2 separate regions of the Homo sapiens genome follow, and region 2 is linked to region 1. The links are contacts of gene promoters, found by promoter capture Hi-C in blood cells and fetal thymus (Javierre and others, 2016). All regions are on one chromosome and are shown on one strand. The core of a region is centred on a gene start or on the middle of the fragment in contact, and the rest is flanking DNA. Distances in the headings are between cores, read along the strand shown.

Region 1 (6,898 bases), core at 1,215-3,714:
GGAGGCCGAGGCGGGCGGATCACGAGGTCAGGAGATCGAGGCCATCCCGGCTAAAACGGTGAAACCCCGTCTCTACTAAAAATACAAAAAATTAGCCGGGCGTAGTGGCGGGTGCCTGTAGTCCCAGCTACTTGGGAGGCTGAGGCAGGGGAATGGCGTGAACCCGGGAGGCGGAGCTTGCAGTGAGCGGAGATCCCGCCACTGCACTCCAGCCTGGGCGACAGAGCGAGACTCCGTCTCAAAAAAAAAAAAAAAAAAGTGTTCACTATTAGAAATACACTTTAATTAAAATGCTTGTACATATATTTTTTTGCCACATCTCTGTCATAGTTTCCCTAGAGTTGATGGCCAGAAATGGAATTACTGAATCAAGGAGTATAAACATTTTTTAGCCTTTTAAAAATTGTGGTACAGTTTTTAAAACTGTGTGTACAGTTCAGTGGCATTAAGTACATACACATAGTTGTGAAATCAAAGTATAAACATTTTATTTTATTTGAGACAGGGTCTGGCTCTGTCTCCCAAGCTGGAGTGCAGTGGTGTGGTCACTGTCACAGCTCACTGCAACCTCGACCTCCCTCCCAGCAATCCTTTCACCCGGCCTACTTAGTAGCTGGGACCACAGGCCTGCACCACCATGCCCAGCTAATTTTGGTAGAGACAGGGTTCTTACTATGTTGCCAAGGCTGGTCACAAACTCCTGGGCTCAAGCCATCCTCCTGCCTCAGCCTCCCAGAGTGCTGGGGTTACAGGTGTGAGCTGCCACGCCCGGCCCAGAGTAAAAACATTTTAAACATAAATCTGCGGTCTGTTCTTAGCACCTGCGGCTGCGTGGGAGGTATGGAAAGGCGCACTTTGGGTTTCGTGAAATCTCAAGTCAGGTCTTGACTTCTCTCTTTCCACAGATTCATCTCTAGTCTCTGTAAAATGCCAGCCCTCTTCTGGGTTAACAGCGCCTAACCGACATGCGCCACTAGTTCTTCCTTGTTTCAAAGTGTTCTCTAAACACAGAGTTAGTTCATGTTTTCATCAGCGCTGATTACGTACATATGAGATGTGGCGGACACTGGGCTAGGGGCTGGTTATTCTCTAAGGCAAATCTGCACAGTCACTCCAGCCTGTCCCCCTTCCCAGCTTCTTCCCCAAATAACATTCACAGAGTGTCTTCCACCCAAAGACAGCAGGGAACAGCCCCGATTCCTAAGAAACCCTCAGCGCGCCTCCTCACAAACTCTTGGCTGCTCCATAAACCATTGGTGTAGGTGGAATCAAGTGGCTTCCTGCTTCACAGGTCTTCGTCTTTACCACTGGCATTTCCTCCTCTCGGAAAACCCTGAGGAGTCCCTTTCTGGGCAGTCTTGATTCTACAGCCTCCGCCTTCCGAAGTGTGTGAGTCAGCACACGCTAAGATCACTTTTGATATACAGTGGGCATTCAATAAAAGCTTGCTTACTAAAAACTCTCACGTATCCATTAAAGCCCAGGATTACAGAAAAGCCTTCTGACACTATTTGCATTTTGGACTCAAATGGCATCAGTAATGCACCTCCCTAATGGGTTTATTAAACCCTTAAACAACAAAGGTACTACTTTTATTTCACTCCTACATGATATACAGTAGCTCTACGCACACAAACAAGACCTAATGTTTACTTAATAAATGATAAAGTCAGATGTAATGAGTCTGCAACACGCACATCTCAGAGCGAACTTCCCCTTTATCATAGCACTATGCTTGGATATTGTCATATAATTGTTGTCATCCAGCAGTCCAGAATTGAAAGTGCTTGGGCTTGAATATTTAGCAGCGCCTTAGTTTTCTAGAACCTGTGATCTACCAACTCGATCCCTGGGTGAACCATTCGGCCCTCCTAGCAGGAATTACTTAACTGAGTTAGAGGTTTTCAACTTTGGACCTCAACAAACACATTGTTTCTATCACGGTGTTCCCAATGACTCACGAGGTCAGATAGTACTTCCTGATTACTCACCAAACCACCTTACTTTTTGCACAATTCGAAACCTAACTTTAGGAAAGAAGGCCGTTTGGCATACTGGAAACAAGAAACAACGCGTGCTACTGCGAACCGCACCGCACGGGGTGCGGAGACTTGGTGTGACTGTCGGCTCCGGTGGGCGCCCCCCACCGCACCCGGTTTCTCGTCACCAGGGCTGCGCCGCGGGGCAGAGCGGAACGACCGCAATATCCCTCCCCGAGGGCGCTGGCTGCACTAGCTAGTCCACTCCCGAGCCTAGCAGCGCCGTCAGGCCCACAGCGCCAACGCCGCGCAGGGCAAGGGTGCAGCCACTGGCGGGAAAGTAGTACGCGGGCCACTTCCTGGCTAGGACTACAGGGACCTTTGCAGCCCCCCACCCCGCAGCGCCCACGCACCTGCCTAGAGGATCCAGCTAGCTCCGGACGCTCCCCGATTCCGCGCTCCTTGCTCGCGGTACTTCCGTAATCTAGGCTCTCCCTGCCCCCGGGGCTGGGCGGGCGCCACTGCGCCGGAACCCCGCCCCGCACCAGGCGGGCGCAGCGTCCCAAGCAGGGACGATAGCCGGAACGCGCCCGGAATCGGGTCCGCCAGGTGGGGAGCGGGTCCCCGGCCTCTGGCGGGGTTTCTCTTCCAAGATCAGCCGGAGGGTTCAGGGCTTTCAGTTTCATATTTCAGGAGGGATTTTGTCAATGAGGATTAATACAAAGCTCGGCTTTGAGAGAGGTGGGTGGATGGTGCTGTCCTTTAACTGAGAAATGGAAGGGATTCACAAGGCCGGGAAAGAAGAAAATTTCGGGAAAGTTCGTGGAAACAGGAGAGTGAGATAATAAATTTACTTTAAGCCTTCCTGCGTTTGAAATTCGTGACAGTGTAACTAGTTGGAAATATATTTATCTGCCATTCAAGAGAGGCAGGGGGCTGGAGATACAGATCTGAGATTCACTGAAATGGGAATAAAGCAATGGGGAAGATTCAGATTTTTAGGATACTGAATAAAATGAGAATAGAAAGGATAGAGTAGAGAATACAGTGGAAAGGGTATGGGGTTGAATCCTGACTCCACAATTTATTACCAAGGGGGCTGGGGACAAGGTAATTTACCAAGTTTCATCATTACAACCTACTCTATAGGGTTGTCTAAGAAACAACAAGAGATTCTGGGGGAGGAGAGAGACTGATTCCTAGAGTTACCACATCGTAATGCTCAAAATGTCCAATCTTCAACAAAAAATTATGAGGCATGCAAAAAAAAAGGCGAAAAAATGGCCAATTCAAAGGAAAAAAGAAATGAACAGAAATTGTCCCTGAGCTGAGGAAGCACAGACATAGGAATTATTAGACAAATACTTCAAATAAACTGTCTTAAACATGGACAAAAAGTGAAAGGAAACATAGAAAAATAACTGAAAGAAACAACCAGGAGAACAAAGTCTCAATAAATAGAGAATATGCAATAGAAGATGTGCAAATGGTCAACAAGCATGAAAAAAAGCCCAGCATAACTAATTATCAGAAAAGTGCAAATTAAAACTGCAATGAGATACCATCTTACACCAGTCAGAATGGTTATTATTAAAAAGTCAAGGAACAACAGATGCTGGCAAGGCTTTATTGAAAAGGAAATGCTTATACACTGTCAGTGGGAATGTAAATTAGTTGAACCACTGTGGAAACCAGTTTGAAGATTTCTCAAAGTGCTGAAAACAGAACTGCTATTCAACCCAGCTATCCCATTACTGGGTACATATTCAAAACAAGAGAACTCATTCTACCAAAAAGACACATGCACTAGTATGTTCGTCACAGCACGCTTCACAATAGGAAAGACATGGAATGAACTTAGGTGCTCATCGACAATGGACTGGATAAAGAAAATGTGGTACATTTGCACCATGGAATACTACGAAGCCATAAAAAGAATGAATGGAATCATGTCCTTCACAGCAACGTGACTGCAACTGGAGGCCATTGTCGTAAGTGAATTAATGAAGGAACAGAAAACCAAATACCACATGTTCTAATTTGTAAGTGGGAGCTAAACACTGGGTACTCATGGATATAAAGATGGCAACAATAGACACTGGGGACAACTAGACAGGGAGGGAGGGGGAGGGGCAAGGGTTGAAAAACTATTGGGTACTATGCTCAGTCCCCGGGTGAGGGGCTCAGTCATACCCCAAACCTCAGCACCACGAATTATATGTAGGTAACAAGCCTGCACATGTACCCTCTGAATCTAAAATAAAAGTTGAAATTATTTAAAAAACAAATAAGGAATATTAATAAAGAGATAGAAATTATAAAAGGAACCAAACACATTTTGGAACTGAAAAGAACCAAAAAGAAATTGTGTAGTTAAAAAGTACAATAGGACCAGGCATGGTGGTTCATGCCTGTAATCCTAGTGTCTTGGGAGGCCAAGGCGGGAGGATCGCTTGAGACCAAGAGTTTGCCTTGGCAACATAGGGAGATCCCCTCTCTACAAAAAAATTACAAAATTAACCGGGCATGGTGGTGCATGCCTGTGGCCCTAGCTACTCAGGAGGCTAAGGCAGGAGGATCACTTGAGCCAAGAAGTTCATGGCTGCAGTGAGCTAAGATCACACTCCTGCACTCCAGCCTGGGTGACAGAGCAATATCTTGTCTCAAAAAAAAAAAAAAGAAGAAGAAAAGAAAAAGAAAAAAATACAATAACTTAAATGAAAAATACACAAGTGATGCTCCAGAGTAGATTTGAGCAGGTAAGAGAAGGAATGAGCAAACTCGAAGATAAAACTGTTGAAATTATTAACTCTGAGGAGCAGAAAGTAGAAGAATGAAGATCAAAGTCCAAAAGATTTGTGGACACCATCAAGTGTATCAGCATATGCATAAAGGGGGTCCCAGAAAGAAAGATGAGGGTGAAGGTGGCAGGAAGAGTATCTGAAGAAACAGTGGCTCCAAAGTCCCCAATTTGTTAAAATACATAATGTAACACTTCAGAGAAGCTCCATGAACTTCAAGTATGATAAACTCAAAAAGTCCACAATAGAGTTATATTAATAATCAAACTGTTGAAAGCCAAAGACAGAGAGAAGCTTAAAAGCAGCTAGACAGAAATGATCACTACATACAAAGGAACTTGAATAAGATTAACAGCCAATCTATTACCATGGGAGCCAGAAGGCAGTGGGATGATATAAAGTGCTGAAAGAAAACAAACAAACCGGCAACCATGAATTCTATATCTGTTAAAACTCTCCTCCAAGAAATGATAGGCCAGGCACGGTGACTCATGCCTGTAATCCTGGCACTTTGGGAGGCTGAGGCAGGTGGATTGCTTGAGCCCAGGAGTTCAAGACCAGCCTGGGCAACATGGTGAAAACCCATCTCTACAAAAAATGCAAAAATTAGCCAGGTATGGTGGCATGTGCCTGTCATCTCAGCTACCTAGGAGGCTGAGGCAGGAGGAACACTTGAGACCTGGAGGTTGAGGCTACAGTGAGTTGTAATTGTGCCACTGCCCTCCAGCCTGGGTGATAGAGTCATCCCATCTAAAAAAAATGTGTAATAAAAACCTATAGAATGCTTGAAGAACCATCCAACTACTATATAATTATTGCTATTTTTGAAGAAAGCAAAAATACAGGTGTGACAACTATTATGGTATTGTTCTGCTCTTATTACAACAAAGATTCAAGCTAGAAATCCTTTACTATCTATTCAACTTCATTCATCATTGGTCAGGCATTCTAGAATGTAGTGGATGTGATAATCCCTTTGCTGTATAGACTCATTAGGTTTCCAGGATGTTTTGTTGTAAGTCCAATGCACCAGCAATAGATTTACCTATATCAAACTGCCAAGATTTAAAAAATGTCTCTCAGCACCCAAGGTTGTTGTTAGAAACTTTCCAGAAGTAATTCTGGAAATCTGAGGTTTCAGGCCTTGGTGAAGAACTCCTTCACTCTTCCTGCAGGTGAAGGAGGATGTGGGTTTTCTTGGGTTTGCCTAGAGGCCAGACACATGCATCTCTCAGTGCATCTTCCCAACCTGTTAGAATTCCCCTTTCTGGCCTGGAAGACATGGGCTTGGGGATCATCCCTTGGCCAGGCTAGCACTTATGTTCTCTCTTTTTTCTTTTTAAGAGTTGGGGGTTTCACTCTGTCGCCCAGGCTGCAGTCTAGTGGTGTGATCATAACCTTAAACTCCTGGGCTCAAGTGATCCTCCTGCCTGAGCCTCCCAAGTAGCTAGGGCTACAGGTGCATGCCACCATGCCTGGCTAACATTCAAACTTCTGGGCGCGAATGATCCACTTCAGTGTTTCAAAGTGCTGGGATTACAGGTGTAAGCCACTGCACCTGACATGTCCTCTCTGGACAGAGTGGACACTTGCTACCATCAGACCAACAATGAAAAGTTGTGAACTCTTGGCTGGGTGTGGTGGCTCATGCTTGTAATCCCAGCACTTTGGGAGGCTGAGGCGGTGGATCACTGGAGGTCAGGAGTTTGACACCAGCCTAGCCAACATGGTAAAACCCCATCTCTACTAAAAATACAAAAATTAGCTGGGCATGGTGGTGCACATCTGTAGTCCCAGCTATTCAGGTGGCTGAGGCAGGAGAATCACTTGAACTGGGGAGGTGGTGGTTGCAGTGAGCTGAGATCATGCCAGAAGGAAAAGTCAGCCTGTATTCCATCAACCAATGATACCAAAATTTTAAGGATAATCTAAAGGGCGGGTTTTGATAACTAGGGAACAGCTCAGATCATTCGCATCACTGTCTGTGTGGGTGCTCCAGGTCTAATGTGCTGATTGCAGGGCTGCAGAGTTGACTCCTGCATGTTCTCACACGTGGAATAGGAGTTAGGCAGCTGCAGCTCTGCCGTGCCCACACTGTCTGCACAGAAGCAGCATCTA
Region 2 (6,898 bases), core at 2,203-4,702, 770 kb after region 1:
ACATAGTATGTTTTTATGAATACTAGTAGACAGACACACACACACACACACACATACACACACACACACACACACACACACACACACACACACACACACACTATGTTGCTGCTGGCGTGGAGAGTGGGACTAGGGCTAACCAGGAATGTGCAGGAGGCTACTGCTGGGAATCTTTGTGTTATTCATCCTTACGAAAAAAAGTGAAATAACCACTACCAACCTAAAAAATGTTAATTTGGGCCAGGCACGGTGGCTCACGCCTGTAATCCCAGCACTTTGGGAGGCCAACACGGGTGCATCACCTAAGGGCAGGAGTTCAAGACCAGCCTGGCCAACATGATGAGACCTCTACTAAAAATATAAAAATCAGCTGGACATGGTGGCACACGTCTGTAATCCCAGCTACTTGGGAGGCTGAGGCAGGAGAATTGCTTGAACCCAGACGGTGGAGGTTGCAGTGAGCCAAGATTGTGCCACTGCACTCCAGCCTGGGCAACAGAGTGAGACTCCATCTCAAAAAGACAAACAAACAAACAAACAAAAGTTAATTTATGTGTACCAGCAGGTTGCAGACAGTTTTTTAAATCGTTTATATCTTCAAAATCATCTAGATAGCTAAACACTAGCTCATTAATTCTACAATTTTCTCCCATATATTAATATATTTCATTACCGCCGGGTGTGGTGGCTCACGCCTGTAATCCCAGCACTTTGGGAGGCTAAGGCAGGGGAATCATGAGGTCAGGAGTTCAAGACCAGCCTGCCCAACATGGTGAAACCCCGTCTCTATCAAAAATACAAAAAATTAGCTAGGTGTAGTGGCGGGCGCCTATAATCCTAGCTACTCGGGAGGCTGAGGCAGGAGAATCACTTGAATCTGGGGGTCAGAGGTTGCGGTGAGCCAAGATTGCACCACTGCACTCCCGCCTGGGCAACAAGAGCGAAACTCCGTCTCAAAAAAGAAGGGAGGGGAGGGGAGGGGAGGGGAGAGGAGGGGAGGGGAGAGGAGGGGAGGGGAGAGGAAGGCTTTCTACTTAAAAACCTGAATAAAGATTTCTCTTAGAGGTCAACATTTATTTCACTGTTTAGGACTATTTCTCCCTTAAATAAAAATCTAGCTTCATTTTACAACACACTGCAAATCCAAACTTAAACACCTTTTAAGACAAATGGGATCAACTACTGTTTACTCCTCTTCATTGTGCGTGACTTGGCTGGAAAGGGCACTGTGGCCAACCACCACCGAGCAATTATTGCAATATAGATCTCACCTGTCTTTTTGGGTGGAGCCACAGAGCCAAACCATATCATTTCCTAAGCTATTAAAACAAAGTTTTTAAGGCTCTAACAAGAAGACAGTTGATGAATATATATGGAAATAAAGGTTACCACAAAGTATCAACACTACTCAAGCAAATAATTTGTGTCCACATCATTCAGTAGAGTTTCAAATAGCTTCTCAGAAAAAATTAAAAAGTCTACTGGCAAGTAGTTTAAAAGTGGGGAGGGGCTGATTTTATTACTATTTAAATAGGAAGTTTGCTTTAAAAAGAAATCCATGTGAAATTTTAAATTTGTGGATTTTTTGAAGATCATAAATATTCCTGGTTGTGCTCCAATTATAAACCTCAAGTTGTAACTTCTCTATGAGGCACAAGTATCTACAAAGCTTCTATACATGCAAAACAATCACACCGCTTTTCATTTGGATTTTATTCCTCTTCTGTCCATCCCCTGTTCACTATTACTCTTCCTCAGGGGTCCATTCTCTATAGGAATCTTACCTACTGTCATTATGTTAGCCTATATTTTAATGACTCCCAAAACTGTATGTCCAGCTCTGCTGTCTCCTGAGTTCACACTGTCTGCTACACAGATAATATTTCCTGACATACTAGTGAGGTCTCACTATGTGCCTAGTGCTGTGATAAGTGCTTACCATACATTATTTCTTTTAATTTTCACAACTCCTGTGTAGTATGTACTAGTACTGTCCCCACAGAAACTGGGACTTGGTGAGGTTGGTTAGTCATCTCAAAGTCATACAGCTAGAAGCAGCTAGTGGTATAGCTTAGTCATAAACCTATGTGATCTGATTCCCAAGCCAAAACACCTTCCCACTATGCTATACTGCCTCCACTTAGATGTGTTTGAGCCGTGTTATACATACTGAACGCAAAACTGATTTCCCCTCTCACCCCTCACAAATACATTTCTAATTCTGTATTTTGGATGTGAGTTAATGTTACTCCTCCATCCTTATCAAGTCACCCACACTGGAAATCCGTGAATGATCCTATGACTTCTTCTCAACCCCCAACATTCAATCAATCACCAATTCCTACCATTTTTATCACCTAAATATTTTTAAATCTGCCCCTTTCACCACTATTAAAGTAATTCCTAAATTATAATGAAAGCCTCTGTTCATGTATCTGTCTTTTCCACTAAAGACTAACATAGCCCAGGGCAAAGACTGTCTTTCATTTATGCATGAATATCTCCTAACGGTTAGTAGAGTGTCTGACACAATAAATGTTTGTTGAACTAAGATGAACGGCCACAGAAAAATTATTCCCCCAGGTGAAAACCAGAAGGTGTGCCCAATTTACCAGTGATCCCTTTTGTTGAAATCATTTGATTTATTAAATAAGATTCTTCTTTATCCCATTATACTTTTCCTCATCTCTCTGCTATCTTTTCCCTACACAGTGGGTGAACAGTAGGTATTCATTCAGTAATTCTTGAATAAACCAGCAACAAACTAAAAGCAAATAGAAAACTACTAGTAGAACACATAGGTATAGTTCAGTTTTTGGTTTTGGGTTTTTTTTCTGTGTGTAGTACATGTCTGGACTTTCAATCCTCTATCCCCACTCCATCATTCGATTAGAATAAAATCACTCCTCTAGAACTGTATAGTTCTTTCTGGCTGGGTCTCTTATCAAGGTGGGAAATTTGTGGTGAAAATGCTCTTTCCAACACTCTAAGCCTATTTCCTGACTCCCCTTAGTTTTATATGCAAAATAATCTGAAATTCTCTTTGTTAGATCTTTAATTTTGGTCAGCTATACAGGATTCAAATCCTAGCTGTTCATATGAATCACCTCTAAAACTTTGCAAAAGTACAAATCCAAAGCCTCACCCCAACTTCACTCAGTTATCTGAGGAGATGGAGACTAAGAATCCGTATTTTTCATAAGTTCACCTGCTCATCTTATGCAACTGACATTTCTTCTAACTTTAACTCCAAATTAATTCCTCTGACTCTTAACACACATGAGGCTAGCTTCCTTCTCTACCTTTAGGCTCTTTTCCCAAATATTAACAGCCTCAGCTTATCTATTTCTCCCACATTTTAAAGGAGCTTATTACAACTTTGATCCTTTAAAATGCACAACTGCTACCGGGTGTGGTGGCTCACGCCTGTAATCTCAGCACTTTGGGAGGCAGAGGTAAGGCAATCACTTGAGCCCAAGAGTTTGAGACCAGCCTGGCCAACATGGCGAAACCCTGCTTTACTAAACATATAAAAATTAGCAGCCGGGCGCAGCTTGCAATCCCAGCACTTTGGGAGGCCAAGGAGGGTGGATCACCTCAGGTCAGGAGTTCGAAACCAGCCTGGCCAACATGGTGAAACCCTGTCTCTACTAAAAATACAAAAATTAGCTGGGCAGGCACCTGTAATCCCAGCTACTCGGGAGGCTGAGGCAGGAGAATCGCTTGAACCCAGGAGGTGGAGGTTGCAGTGAGCCGAAATTGCATCACTGCACTCCAGCCTGGGCACAAGAGCAAGACTCTGCAAAAAAAAAAAAAAAAAAAAAAAAAATCAGCTGGGCATCGTGGTGCACACCTGTAATCCCAGCTACTTAGGAGGCTGAGGCATGAGAATCACTTGAACCCTGGAGGCAGAGGTTGCACAGAGCAGAGGCTGAGTCATTGCACTCCAGCTTGAGTGACAGAGCGAGACTCTGTCATAAAATAAAATAAAACAGATGCACAACTCCATTACATGCACGCACACACTCAAACACACATACATCTTTGAAGAACATGTAGATAAATATATACTATCAGGAAAGAGTTTACTAATTCACTCAACAAAAATGTACTGGCTATCAACTAAGGGCCAATCTATCTGTATCTCATTTCTTTATCTCTAAAATAAGGACAATAATCTCTTTTCAGAAAGCTACTGAAAGGTTGGATAATAAATGTCAGGTACTGATATGGTTTGGCTCTGTGTCCCCGTCCAAATTTCATCTTGGATTGTAATCCCCATGTGTGCAGGAAGTGACCTGGTGGGAGGTGATTGGATCATGGGGGTGGTTTCCCCCATGCTGTTCTCTCTTCACAGTGAGTCCTCATGAGTTCTAATGGTTTTAAAGTGGGACACTTTCCCCCTTTGCTCTCTCTCTCTCCTGCCACCATGAGAAGACGTGTCTTGCTTCCCTTCACCTTCCACCAAGATTGTAAGTTTCCTGAGGCCTCTCCAGCCATGTGGAACTTGAGTCAATTAAACCTCTTTCCTCTATAAATTACCCAGTCTTGAGTTGTTCTTTATAGCAGTGTGAAAATGGACTAATACAGGTACTTTATTTGCCTAATAAATATAAGCAATAATATTTGTGCTCAAGTAAATATTTGCAAAACTACTGTAGTTAGTAATCTAGTCAAGTAGGTAGAGCCCTGACAGTCCTCTATGTCAAGCTACTATCCAGATAAGTTCAAATGGAGAAAGGAAGAAGGATGCGTATGGAGTTTAAAAGGCAAATTCCATATTTTAAGGTGCTCCATAGTTGGAAGAAACTACTGTAAATGATGAAAGCACAGATCAGCAAAATGTTCTTCACTAATGGGAATAGGGAAAATACAAAATTCTCAACAGAGGAAATATAACATTTATGTCTCAATAGCAGAGGTTTATCTGATGAAAAAAAAACCATATGTTAAGGTACAAAATCTGTGCTGTAGATTAAAAAAGATACAGAGGTTTTTAAGCACAGTAGTCCATTAGGAAATATGGCTTGTAAGATCATTCCAGTGTGAATGTGGAGAAAATGCTGAGTTGATTAAGGGCAACCAGGTAAGAAGCTAATGAAGCCATCTAAGTGACTGGCTGATATAATTAGGGCCTGGAGTAAGCTGTGACAGAGAGGAAGTCCATCTTGAGATAATAACAAAACTGATAACGGAAGGAAGAAAGGAGGAAAAACAGAGATTCCTTAAGGGTTTTAAGCTTGTCACACTGGTTGCCATTCACTAAGATAAAGTAGTACAGAGAAGAAAATGTCTGAAAGGAATGTCTTTAATATAACAAACTGAGGACTATCTTAGCATAAACCAACTTATATTCAAATCTATATAACAGAAAATCATTACATACAACTGCTTCAATGGGTAATCTCCATATGAATGTGACAGATAGTGAAATTAATCTGAAATCATTCCACAACATTTATTTAGTATTTACACTAAAGTTCTCAAGAAAATAAGAGAATTTCTGAGAAAATACACTGATTATTTTGCTCTTTGTGGCAAATCCCACCCCTCACCCCTAAGGAGGGGAAATCAAATGTTTTTCTTTGCTAAAATCATTGGCATACAAATTTCAAACCACAGACTTAGTCAACTTCTAAAAACCAACTGCTTCTTTATATTTCCCCCTTTCAGCAAGGAACTAAAAGTATTTTACAGATGTTGCTACAGATTTTCCCCAGTCTGTTCTTGGAAATGTATTAAGTCAGATGTTTAGGAAGCAACTACAATTCTTTCTGGTCACTAACACTGAAGTACTAAGAAACTATTAGGATCCTTAAATTATAGGTATCATCACAGCCAAAAAGTAAATGAAAAAAAAGAAAAAAAGACTTTGGGAAAAGAAAGAACAAACGAAAAACGAAAATGTGGCAAGGAGAAAGGAATTGGAAGATGTCGCTTTGGTGAGGAATGGTAAATGCCAACACACATTACTTTAAGGACTATTTAGTTGAATTGTTGCCAACTATGGGCCTGCACTAAAAGGTACCCTAATGGTCCAGGCAGAAAGTTCAAATTTCAGCCAATTATAAAATTAGAACTGGAAAACACAGAGAACCCCACACATACAGAATCACACTCAGAAAATGTTGGGGCCACTACAGGTGTAGTAGCTTACGCTTGTAATCCCAACACTTTGGGAGGCCAAGGCAGGAGGATTGCTTGAGACCAGGAGTCTGAGAACCAGTCTGAGCAACATAGTGACACCCTCATCTCTACAGAAAAAGAAAATTATTTTCTAATTAGCCAGGCATGGTGGCATGCTCCTGCAGACCCAGCTACTTGGGAGGTAAAGGCAGGAGGATCGTTTGAGCCCAGGAGGTAGAGGCTGCAATGAGTTATGATCATACCACTGCACTCCAGCCTAGGTGACAGAGCAAGATCTTGTTGGAAAGGAAAGGAGAAAGACAGGAGAAAGGACAAAGAAGAAAGGAGAAAGGAAAGGGGAAAGAGAAAAGAGGAAAGGAAAAGGAAGGAAAGGAAGAGAAAAGAAAAAAAAGAAGAAAAGATTCCAAATGAAAAACACAGGGAGTCACACAAACAGAATCACATTCAGAAAATTCAGACACCTCTTTATCCCTGAGGAAAAAGTGGCCTCTGGGACAGGAAGGGACCAATGGCCTTCTTCAGACTTCTGTGACCAACAGTTGTACTTATTCTACAACTACATAACAATAGACGCTGTGGCTACTGAAGCAGAAAGTGCACCATCACTGTTCCTCTGGCTTGTCGCACTCCTTCCCTATAGCCAGGCACTCATCTAGGACTCTCAGAATCATTTCACACTGACATCCTGCCAAGAATTAGCTTTCAAAAAGAAAGCACATCAAGTTGTGTGCAGGAAGTGGAGGGCAGAGAT

What was found. The method cuts DNA at HindIII sites, captures the fragments that hold promoters and counts their contacts. A CHiCAGO score of 5 or more calls a contact.
Region 2: a fragment that was not itself captured here is called in contact with the fragment with the promoter of PARP4 in region 1 in 1 of 17 cell types (monocytes); the score reaches 5.3 in monocytes.

Annotation. Positions count from the first base shown.
Region 1 is chr13:24,510,314-24,517,211 of GRCh38, forward strand. It overlaps PARP4 (poly(ADP-ribose) polymerase family member 4), which reads right to left and starts at 2,465. Exons shown (of 34, transcript NM_006437.4): 1 at 2,393-2,465. The region is part of intron 1 of LOC105370117 (a long non-coding RNA gene); the gene reads left to right. RefSeq lists a silencer at 2,463-2,622. The HindIII fragment of the contact is 3,630 bases long and covers 1,443-5,072 here.
Region 2 is chr13:25,274,907-25,281,804 of GRCh38, forward strand. All of the region lies in intron 1 of MTMR6 (myotubularin related protein 6), which reads right to left. Among named protein-coding and RNA genes, the nearest start is that of MTMR6, 9.1 kb to the right of the region's middle. The HindIII fragment of the contact is 3,570 bases long and covers 1,668-5,237 here.